Regions from separate parts of the Homo sapiens genome. Here regions 1 and 3 are each linked to region 2. The links are contacts of gene promoters, found by promoter capture Hi-C in blood cells and fetal thymus (Javierre and others, 2016). All regions are on one chromosome and are shown on one strand. The core of a region is centred on a gene start or on the middle of the fragment in contact, and the rest is flanking DNA. Distances in the headings are between cores, read along the strand shown. Region 1 overlaps ALG12 (ALG12 alpha-1,6-mannosyltransferase). Region 2 holds the start of LMF2 (lipase maturation factor 2). Region 3 holds the start of ZBED4 (zinc finger BED-type containing 4).

What was found. Contacts are between HindIII fragments. The CHiCAGO score rates a contact against its expected background, and 5 or more counts as called.
Region 1: a fragment that was not itself captured here is called in contact with the fragment with the promoter of LMF2 in region 2 in 2 of 17 cell types (neutrophils and fetal thymus); the score reaches 7.0 in neutrophils.
Region 3: a contact is called between a fragment that was not itself captured here and the fragment with the promoter of LMF2 in region 2, in 5 of 17 cell types (total B cells, erythroblasts, monocytes and 2 more). The highest score is 8.6, in total B cells.

What each region holds. Positions count from the first base shown.
Region 1 is chr22:49,912,313-49,915,367 of GRCh38, forward strand. It overlaps ALG12 (ALG12 alpha-1,6-mannosyltransferase), which reads right to left. Exons shown (of 10, transcript NM_024105.4): 2 at 1,292-1,531; 3 at 1,073-1,205. The coding sequence starts at 1,453. Among named protein-coding and RNA genes, the nearest start is that of ALG12, 4.6 kb to the right of the region's middle. The HindIII fragment of the contact is 2,774 bases long and covers 75-2,848 here.
Region 2 is chr22:50,505,715-50,509,019 of GRCh38, forward strand. It overlaps LMF2 (lipase maturation factor 2), which reads right to left and starts at 1,988. Exons shown (of 14, transcript NM_033200.3): 1 at 1,868-1,988; 2 at 1,068-1,321; 3 at 924-952; 4 at 571-788; 5 at 321-499; 6 at 1-101. The coding sequence starts at 1,961. NCAPH2 (non-SMC condensin II complex subunit H2) reads left to right here and starts at 2,510. Exons shown (of 20, transcript NM_152299.4): 1 at 2,510-2,731. The coding sequence starts at 2,624. RefSeq lists an enhancer at 1,719-1,768 and silencers at 1,989-2,088, 2,759-3,048. The HindIII fragment of the contact is 8,515 bases long and covers 1-3,305 here.
Region 3 is chr22:49,853,172-49,856,435 of GRCh38, forward strand. ZBED4 (zinc finger BED-type containing 4) reads left to right here and starts at 673. Exons shown (of 2, transcript NM_014838.3): 1 at 673-818. It overlaps LOC124905147 (a long non-coding RNA gene), which reads right to left. Exons shown (of 2, transcript XR_007068156.1): 2 at 1,331-2,115. LOC105377205 (a long non-coding RNA gene) reads right to left here and starts at 341. Exons shown (of 5, transcript NR_188597.1): 1 at 1-341. RefSeq lists silencers at 21-110, 131-860, 1,031-1,320. The HindIII fragment of the contact is 470 bases long and covers 1,605-2,074 here.

The DNA.
Region 1 (3,055 bases), core at 212-2,711, 590 kb before region 2:
GTTCTGTCCAGCTGGAGTCCACCCAGCTCTGCCCAACCTCCCAACCTCTTGCTGCCAACCCTGGAATAAGCAGAAGCTTCCAAGGGAATGTGGACTCAGCCCCGGAATTGCCTGTGGACTTCCTTTCCCTGGCTCGTGGCCCCCCAACTCCTCCCCATTTGGGGCTTCCTGATGCCTCTACAGGACATGCACGGCTTGTCCAGCTGTCCCCGTGCCATGGTGGGTTTCCGTTCCCAATCTGCCCCTTCAAGAAGCAGAACTGCTCCTTCCCCAGGAACGTGCTACTTCTTAAAGCTCTCCACACAAGCTGGACTGACTCGCTGGAAGCATGTCTGGGTATTAAAAGCAATAAAAGCGTACTGAAATAAAAAAGTGGTGATTGCTGACTTCAAAAACTCAGGTTGTGTGACTGGGCGTGGTGGCTCATGCCTGTAATCCCAGCACTGTGGGAGGCTGAGGTGGGACAATCACTTGAGCCCAGGAGTTCAAAGCTGTAGTGAGCTATGATTGCACCACTGCACTTCAGCCTAGGTGACACAGCAAGGCCCTGTCTCAAAAAAGAAAAAAAAATCGGTTTTTAGAACAATATGTACAAAACGTTCTAATTTTTTTTTTTTAAAGTCCTCATGTGGGCACAGAGAAAGACCCAGGATTTGCACACAGGCCCTGCAGTGGTGGCCTCTGGGAATGTGAGGTTTCTGTTTGTAACATTCCCCAAGGCAAATGGTGCTGCTTCTGCAGGAATAAAGGCTGTTGACCCCATGGGGGCTTGCCAGGTGAGGCGGGAGCAGCAGGCTCAGGTGGCGAGAGCTGCCTCACAGGCAGTCGGCATTTCTCTTGTACCTGCCGTCACCCCTAATTTCACAGTCAAGAGTGTGGAGGCACAGAGGGGCTGACTCAGACGTCTTAGGCCTGACCTGAGCACCTGCTCTGAGCCGCCATGCCACGGTGATCGAGGGCAGGCAAGACTAACAGACAGCGTTCCTGGGCAGGAGGGACCGCGGCCTCGCTGAGGTCACCCGATGACACCACAGTCCCTCACTCCCTCCTCCTTTGTTGAAGACCCCCTTACCTATTAGCTGAGAGTAAAACTTGGACATTTCTAACAGCGAAAGCACGTAAACCGCGGGGCTGGAGAACACTGCGATCACCACTGGCCCGAGGAACGTCCTGGGGACGACTCCGGGGAACTCAAGATGGTCGTACTGCGAGGAGAAGGGCAGGTCAGTGCACCGGGGCCCTGCCAGCTGGTAACATGAGGTTTTCCCCAAAGACAGCAGGGGCCCCTCACCTGCTCCAGGTCTTGCCAGTGGTAGAGCAGGTCATGTGTGGCCTGCAGGTTGAAGCTCTCCTCCACTTTGGTGTAGGGACAGATGACCAGGTGGACAGTGGCTACGGCCACCAGCAGCCCCAGCAGCAGGGGCCGCCTGCCTGATGACCCCTTTCCAGCCATTCCAGGCTTTCAGCTTCACGTACCTTCACAGGCCAACAGTGCGAGACACCAGCCGTTAGCACTGCCACTCCACGCATGCTGGAAAAGTGGAAACAGATTCCTGAGGTTCGAAAGTCACGCTTGCGCTCACGTTTGGGAGATCCGGGTAAAGGGTTAGCAGAATTCTCTGAACTACTGTCTTAGTCGCACTACTACAAATCTGAAAACGCATCAAGATGGAAAGTTTGGAGAAAAAATCACACTTGAGAATCTTTCATACTGTAACCAGTGATCTGACACTTCCAGCTCTGTGAATGTTTTTCTAGGCAGAAGGATCTCAGTCGCAGAACCCTGAGTCTGACCAGGCCTGGGCCACGAGGGCAATGGAGGGTGGTAAATGGCCCCTGCCCCCCAGTCTAAATCTGGCAGGAGAGTCAGCAAAACCCAGGCTTGGCCCCGAGGGAACCGGCTGAAGAAGACGGAATGGGAGGCTGAGGGGTGCCAGTTAGCTGGGTGGGAGGCACCAAGCTGGAGAGTGGTGGACAGGGGCCCCGGGAGGGCAAGAAACTGAACGTAGTACAGCTGCTGGGACACAGGGCTCGAGTGGCCAGCAAAGCCCCCGCTCCCAGGAATGGTGGGATGGGGCTGTGGACGCCTGCGCCGAACCCCACCCTGGGGGCTGGGAGAAGCCATGGCCGGCTTTCCCAAAGGTGGCACCACACTGGCCATGAGCCTGCATGTGAGCCTGGGAAGACTGGCAATGGGTCCCCCAAACACTAACAGGACAACCTCAGGGGCCCGTGGCACGGAGCTTCCTGAGAGGCCAGCAACATGTCCAGCTGCTACACGTGAGAGACCAAGGGAGGGGAGGGGGCAAACTCTTCACGTTTCTGGCTTCTTTTAAAACAGATTTGATTTTATTCAATCCAAACCAGAAGGGCCAGAAGCAAAGGGAGAGAGAACCCCAGGGCTTACCATTTATTAAAACTACTTTAAAAATTTTTTTTAAGAGACAGCGTCTTACTCTGTCACCCAAGCTGGAGTGCAGTGGAGTGATCATGGCTCACTGCAGCCTCAAACTCCTGGGATCCTTTTGCCTGAGCCTCCTGAGTAGCCGCAGCTACAGGTGTGGGTCACCACACTCAGCTAAGTTTTCTTATTTTTTGTAAAGACAGGGTCTTGCTTTGTAGCCCAGGCTGGTATGGAATTCCTGGCTTCAAGCCATCTTCCTACCTTGGCCTCCTGAAGTATTGGGATTACAGGCGTGGGCCACCATGCCCAGCCAAAACTATCTTTTGATCAAACGGAGAGTTAAGAAGTATACAAAGATGGCAACCAAAGGAAAATCTGTAGATTAGAAGGAAGGAGAACCCTATTTGATATGGTGGGCAGGGGGTGGAGAGAAAGAAAAAAGAAAGCTTTAATAATTTTACGACTGAAATGGTATGCAGTTCTCTCCTTTGCCAAATATAAAAACCTGGGGCCGGGCGCGGTCGCTCATTCCCGTAATCCCAGCTCTTTGGGAGGCTGAGGGCCAGGTGCGGTGGCTCATTCCCATAATCCCAGCTCTTCGGGAGGCTGAGGTGGGTGGATCACGAGGTCAGCAGATCAAGACCATCCTGG
Region 2 (3,305 bases), core at 738-3,237:
GCCAGGTGCTGGTCGTCCAGCAGCGCAGTGGTAAGCACCAGCGTCATCAGGTTGAAGAAGTTGTAGTTGCCGGTGATGATAATCAGGACCTGCAGCAGCACCTGGGGGCGGCCCGCTCTCAGTGCTCCCGGAGACTGACGCCTGGCCCCGTGGCAGGCACCCACCTCCACCCTGCAGGGTGCATCCCTCTGCTACAAGGCCTTCCCAACAGCGGTTGCCAGCTGTCCCCGGGAGCCACGCTGTCCCCAACAGGGCACGCTGAGCAGCGCTGAAGGCCGAGCCCTGTCTGCCTCTCTCTGACAGCTGCGGCCCTCACCCACCTGCGAGTAGAAAGCAGCCAAGCGCAGGCGTCGAATGGGGGCGAAGAACAGGGGCGGCACAGCGATCTCAATTAGGAAGGTGGCCACCACGCTGAGCTTGTGCAGCCAGACCGGCAGGTGGTGTGCGAACCAGGCGGCGGGCGTGGGCAGGCACTGGGTCTCGTAGTGGTAGGTGAGGGCTGCAGGCGAGGGCAGGAGTCAGGGCTGGCCGAGCCCCCAGACTACCCCAGGTCCAGACCGGGCCCCTCACCAGTGAGCCCCCACCACGCAGGGCAGCGGCTGGTCAGCTTGACCACGCCTGAGGCGAACATGAGGCGGAACAGCAGCCATCGCACCAGCCAGAAGGGGAGGTCTTCGTGGGGCAGGGCCCCTGCCTGCCTGCCCTGGGGGGCCTCCTTGCGGTGGGAGGCTGGCCTCAGCGGGGCCACCAGCACGGCCAGGAAGCCAGTCTCTAGCAGCAGGGAGTCCCTATGGGGAGAGCAAATAGCACCAAGAGCCCCTCCCCACACAGCTGCTTCCCTCGGAAAGTCCTCCCAGGAAGGGCAGAGCCCTCCCCCACCCCCTACCCAGCCTCCCACAGCCCCAGGCCCAGCCGTCACTCACCACTGGAAATAAAGGAACACCTGGCCCACCTGCGGAGAGAGGGGCTGTCAGGGAGCGGGTGTGTCTGTGGACTCAGGTAAGGTAGAGGCAGGGGTGGGTGGTGGGGGTTGGAGATAGAGTGAGCTGGTCACAGGTCCCACTTGCCTGGCAGGCTGACAGGTAGGCGGCCCAAAGCAGCAAGTAGATGACAGGGTGGCGCAGTGGGCTCAGCAGCAGGGCTCCCAGGGCCACTAGTGCACCCAGCAGGCTCAGCAGCTCCAGGCCCTGGGCCGTGTCCAGCCCCAGTCTCGGCGCTTCCCACAGCAGCGTCGGGGTCTCCCACAGCTGCTGCCAGCGCCCCTTGCCCTGAGGCCGCAGCGTCCTCCTTGCAGGTAGGATGCCCTCGGGGCCATACAGGCCTGTGGGAGGGCATGTCATGGCCAGGCCCTGGACAGCCCTTGCAGACTAGACTACCTCTGAGTCAGGGCCTGCAGATCCCCCAGCCTAGGTCAGAGCATGCGGATACCTCCATCCCTAGGTCAGAGTCTGCAGTCCCTCCAGAGCCCGTCCCCCAGGTCGGGACCTGTCAAAACCCCGTCCCAGGGCTAGAGGCCTGCTCAACTACCTGAGTCAGGGCCTCCCACCCAGCAGAGCCCACTGCCCTCTTCCAGGTCTCAGCCCGATCTCCTACCTGTCCCACCAGGTCTGGGAGGAAGCCTCTCTCCCACCTCTCTCAGAGTTCTGTCCCCCACCCCAGGTCAGAGTCCAGAGCCTTACGGGAAATGGATCACCGCACACCTTCCTACCCCCACAGCGGCCTGCAGGACACGAACCGCCGCCCCCTACCCCACGCCAAGGCCTGGCCCTCACTCCCAACCCCGGACTGCGTGAGTGCCGGGCACAGAGAAAAGAGGACATAGGGTCCCGCGCCGAGGCTGGGGGTGTCCCACCCTGGGTGCCTTCACCTGGGATTTGCGTGTAGAGGGAAGCGAAAGCAAACATGAAGACGGCCGCCACGCCCTGGAGGAAGAGCTGCCGCGGGAGCCGGGAGCCCGCCATGTCCGCTACGCGGCCCGCTAGAGCAGGGCCCGCCCTCCGCGTCCGCCCGCCCGCGGCAGCCCCAGGCCCCGCCTCCTCACCGCCCCGCCCGCCCAATCCGTGGCAGCCCCAAGCCCCGCCTCCTCGGCCCGCCCGCCCGCCCGCGGCAGTCCCAGGCCCCGCCTCCTCACCGCCCCGCCCGCCCAACCCGTGGCAGCCCCAAGCCCCGCCTCCTCGGCCCGTCCGCCCGCCCGCGGCTGCCCCAGGCCCCGCCTCCTCACCGCCCCGCCCCCCCAACCCGTGGCAGCCCCCAAGCCCCGCCTCCTCGGCCCGCTCGCCCGCGGCAGCTCCAGGCCCCGCCCCACCCCGCCCCGCCCGACCCACGGCGGCCCCAAAAGCCCTCCCGTCCAAACTGGTGGCAGCCCAAAGCTCCGCCCACCCCCCCCTCCCGGAGGCTTCGACCCCGCCCCGCGACTCTTCCGGTGAGCTCCCGCTGCGCGGCGCCGGGGTTCGCCTCTCTGGCTTTTGCCCACGTTACGTCATAGACATGCGCGCGACGCCGCGCCTACGCATTTTCCTGGGCGGGAACAGCAAAATGGCGCCAGAACTAGTGGCGGGCTGAGGACGCCGTACCCCTCGGAAGGCAGCCCTGCGGTCCCTTTGCCGCCCGTTCCCTCCCGGACATGGAGGACGTGGAGGCGCGCTTCGCCCACCTCTTGCAGCCCATCCGCGACCTCACCAAGAACTGGGAGGTGGACGTGGCGGCCCAGCTGGGCGAGTATCTGGAGGAGGTAAGGGCGGCGGGGGAGTGACGCGGGGTGGGCCGGCGGGTGGGGCTGCGGGGCGGGGGCTCCGGGCCCGGGGCTGTGGGCGCCCCACCGTCTCCACGCCTATGGCTATCTGGCGCTCTGGCCGCGCAGGTCCTCGGGCTCCCTGCTTCTTTTCAAACTCCATCTCTGCCTCCCCAAATCATCCCTTGTTGGATTAGCGTGGACCTGTCATTGCAGGTTTCTACCCGTCAGCGAGCCGTGAATGATTGAGTGGGTGGTGACCAGCCGTTTCTCTAACGTAGTGGAATAGACTAGAAAGCATTATTGCTTTTATTGCAGTTATTGCGAGCATGCTTGTGTGTTTGAGAGGTCTGGATCACGATGTCAGAGGAATTTTTTATCTTGGATTTTCAAACCAATTTCAAGCTATTGCCATGCTCTATCCTGTTAGCGATTAGTGTTTCTTCCATGTTTGACAGCCCTGTCTAGACCTGTGTTAAGCTGTCTGCTCCATATTTGCGCTTCATTTTTACTCCTCAGCCCAGCTCAGTCTGGCGTCCACGACACTTAAATGTTTCTTGTCTTGATCAGCAGT
Region 3 (3,264 bases), core at 590-3,089, 650 kb before region 2:
ACACATTAAAAGTGCACATTTCCTTCAGACCCTGAGAAGCGGGCGAGTCCCGTGCGCTCCGCACCGCCAGCCCCGGCCCCGCGCTCGCCCAGAGGGCCGCCCTCCTCCCGCCGACCCGGCTTGGGGCTTAGGCGTTAATCCCGTCCCCCGGGGGGGCCGCGCGGGGAGCCCCGATCGCCTTAGGGTCAACGGCTTAGGTCCCAGCCCACGAGGCCTGACCGCACCGCACTGAGCGGCCTCTGCGCCAGGTAAGGGGGTTCGGGGCGGGACCGGGAACCGCGCTGCTAGCCGTCCCGGAAACCCGCGGTGGGCCGTTGGGTGCGCGCCGAGCCGCTGCCAACTGCCAAGCCACGGGACGAAACCAAGGCGCCCGCGCCCCGCCCAGCCAGAGCGCCTAAGCCCTTCCCGTCGCCCGCCAGCGCCGGAGCGCCCACTGCGCCTGCGTAGTTTGCCCTCCTGGACCCGGGGGCGGAGCCGAAGCGCGCATTGCGCCTGCGTCTTCCGCCCGACCCCGCCCCAGCGGCCGGGCCTCCGGCGCTCCGTCCTCCCGCCCGGCCAGGGACGAGGCGGGGCGGGTACGCGGACACTGCGCCTGCGAGAGTAGGCCCCGCCCCCGATCGGCCCCGCCCCCGGCCAGCCCCGCCCCGCGCCGCGCGGGGCCCTGGGAGGGGCGCAGCGTCCGGCGGCGTCGCGGGCGGCGGGCGGCGGGGCCGCGGGAGGGGCGCGGGGGCAGACAAAGCCGCGGTAATGAATGGAGCGTCCGCCCGCGCCGCCGTCGTCCGCAGCCGGCCGGGAGCCGCCCCAGAGGCCGGGCCGAGGTGAGTGCGCGGGCGCCGCCGCCCCGCCGCCTGCCGCGAGCCCCGTCCCCCGCGGACCGCGCCGGGGCCGGGCCGGGCCGCGCCATTGTCTGCGCCGCGCCGGGGCCAGGGCCGGGGCCAGGCGGGCGGGGGCGCGGTTCCGTGGCCTCGGGGTCCCCGCCCGGCGCCGCCCCGGACCCGCCCCCGCGCGGACCCCGGCCCTGACAGCTGGCGCGGGGGCGGCGCCGACTGAGCGGCCGAGTGCCGGGGGTCGGCGCCCGGCCTGGCCCACGTGCCCGCGCCGTTGCTTCCGGGCGGACGGGACGGGGCTCGGGCTCGGGGCGCCGCCCGGGTCCGCCGGGAGCGCGCTGTCCCGGCCACGTCGAGTTAACCCCGCGAGCCCCGTCCCTGGGACTTCTCTGGACGTGTCATTCCCGTCCCACCTCCAGGAAGGGCCACCTGGGCCCTGCTTCATGTCTCAGCCCAGACGGGTCCTTGCGACGCGCCCCGAGGCAGGTTATTGTACGTGGTTCTGGGGATGACCGTTCACATTTAATGAATAAAAATGTAACTTGCCTTGCGAACCATAATTTCAAATGTTTTTCGACTGCAGTGGTTTTCCTACACCCAAATGAGCTCGCAGTCAGTTTTGTTTCTTCTTTTGTCCCGTTGTGTGGCCCACACCGCCTTCGTTGCTAAGAGAATCGCAGCCCCTCGGGCTCCCTTCTGCGCCTTTCTATTCCGGGTGGCCCTGGTAGACCCGGGCACCTCTGTGGAAACACGTCCCGGCCAAGCTGAGCCGTCAGAAGCTTCTGTTGGTGTTCTCGTGTTGGTCGAAAGGGAAGTTATTTATTTTGAAGTTAACTCTGATCAGATTACGTTTTTAGAAATCCATTCAGACCTCATAGTGAGGCCAGTTTGGTAAAGCAAGGGCATCCTGCGACTTTTTACACAGAAATGTTTTTTATTTTTTCTGTGTATGTCATTCATAGTGACAAAATTGAGGCTAGGAAGGATTTGGTTGGGATTTTTTTTTAAGTGCTATGAATAAGCCACATTTTGATTATGAATTAATTGCAATTACTAAACAAAGTTACTTTGCAAGAGGAAAGTTTACAGGAGTTTGATTCCATACTCCGAGGGTTTCCAATGGGACGTCCGTACAAGGCTGCACACTTCCCGTAGTCCTTAAACGGATTATATCTGCTTGTCATGATTGGCTTTTTTTCAAGAAAAGATCTAGCACAAGTTAAGAGAGATTCTGTGAATCTTGAAAAAGCTTCAGAGGCCCGGTCTTTGAGGTGAGGACACAGTTAATCTATATGGAAAGAAACCTAAGACTTTTAGTCCACTTGACAGGTGGTTACAGGGTCTCCCCCAACACACACTCTTGTCCAGGTAATTCCTGAATAAGGTGGTTGATGTTGTTGGATGTAAAACCTCTGCTCTTTAAGGTTACCTCCTCCCCAACCCCCTCCACACACACAGTGAGTAACTCAGCTGTGCAAAGTATGTCCATAACACCTTGCAGAAAGACTAAAAAAATTACTAGGGGAGCGGACTGACTTCTGTGTGTGTGCAGAGGAGCTGAGAAGCAGCTTCTTTAGCGAAAGGTGTGTGTGTGTGTGTGTCTCAGATCCTTGGTGAGGAGCCCTGGGGAGTGGACTCCTGGCGGCATGAGGAGCAGGAAGTGACCGTGGTCAGTGCCGTCCTTCACTTTGTTTTGCGTTTTTTTCTTTGCCTGGCTTTAGCTTCTGGTCTCATTCTCTTTGGTGTGGTGGTTGTCTTTTGAGAGGAGGGAGCAGGTGAAACAGCTGGGCGTGGCTTTGCCCAGCCCTGGGGTAGAGGCCAAGCTGGCCCTTCCTTACCAACGTTGTTTCCTTCACTGTTTAAATCTCAGGACCTGAGAATGTACCTATAGGAATTGCTCTTATTTACATTTGGCTGTGTAAGAAAGTCACTGTGCCTTTAGCCCGTGACACCCCTTAGCGGTTTGGTTTTGGCTTTCTCTTTTAGTGTCTGTGGATTCCAGCAGCTCTCTGGCTTCAGCCCTTTCAAGGATTCGGGCCTCTCTGCATCCCAGCCTTCCAGGCCCTTCTGCTCCCCACTTTTTAGCACCTAGGTTTTTCTACATTCTGCAGTACCTCAGATCCCTTCCTTGGTCATCACTGGATATGTGCTTTTGTAGTTCAAATTCTGGGAGGCATTGTTAGGAATAAAATAAGCTCTTTGCCATTTCTGAGGCGGAGGGGAGCAGGAGAGACAGAGGTGCTTGCCTCTCTGCCTGCTGGGGCCATGGTGGTTTTCAAAGAAGGCCCTGGCCGTAGGGAACATGGTGGTGGTGAGGAGCAGCGTAAACCAGAGAAAAAGGCTCAGTAAGTGCTTCAAGGAGAAACACCGGCAGGTGAGAGCAGGGGTAATCCCAGTTTCTCAGGAAAGCATGCTCCGGAGACCTCATAGGGAGAGG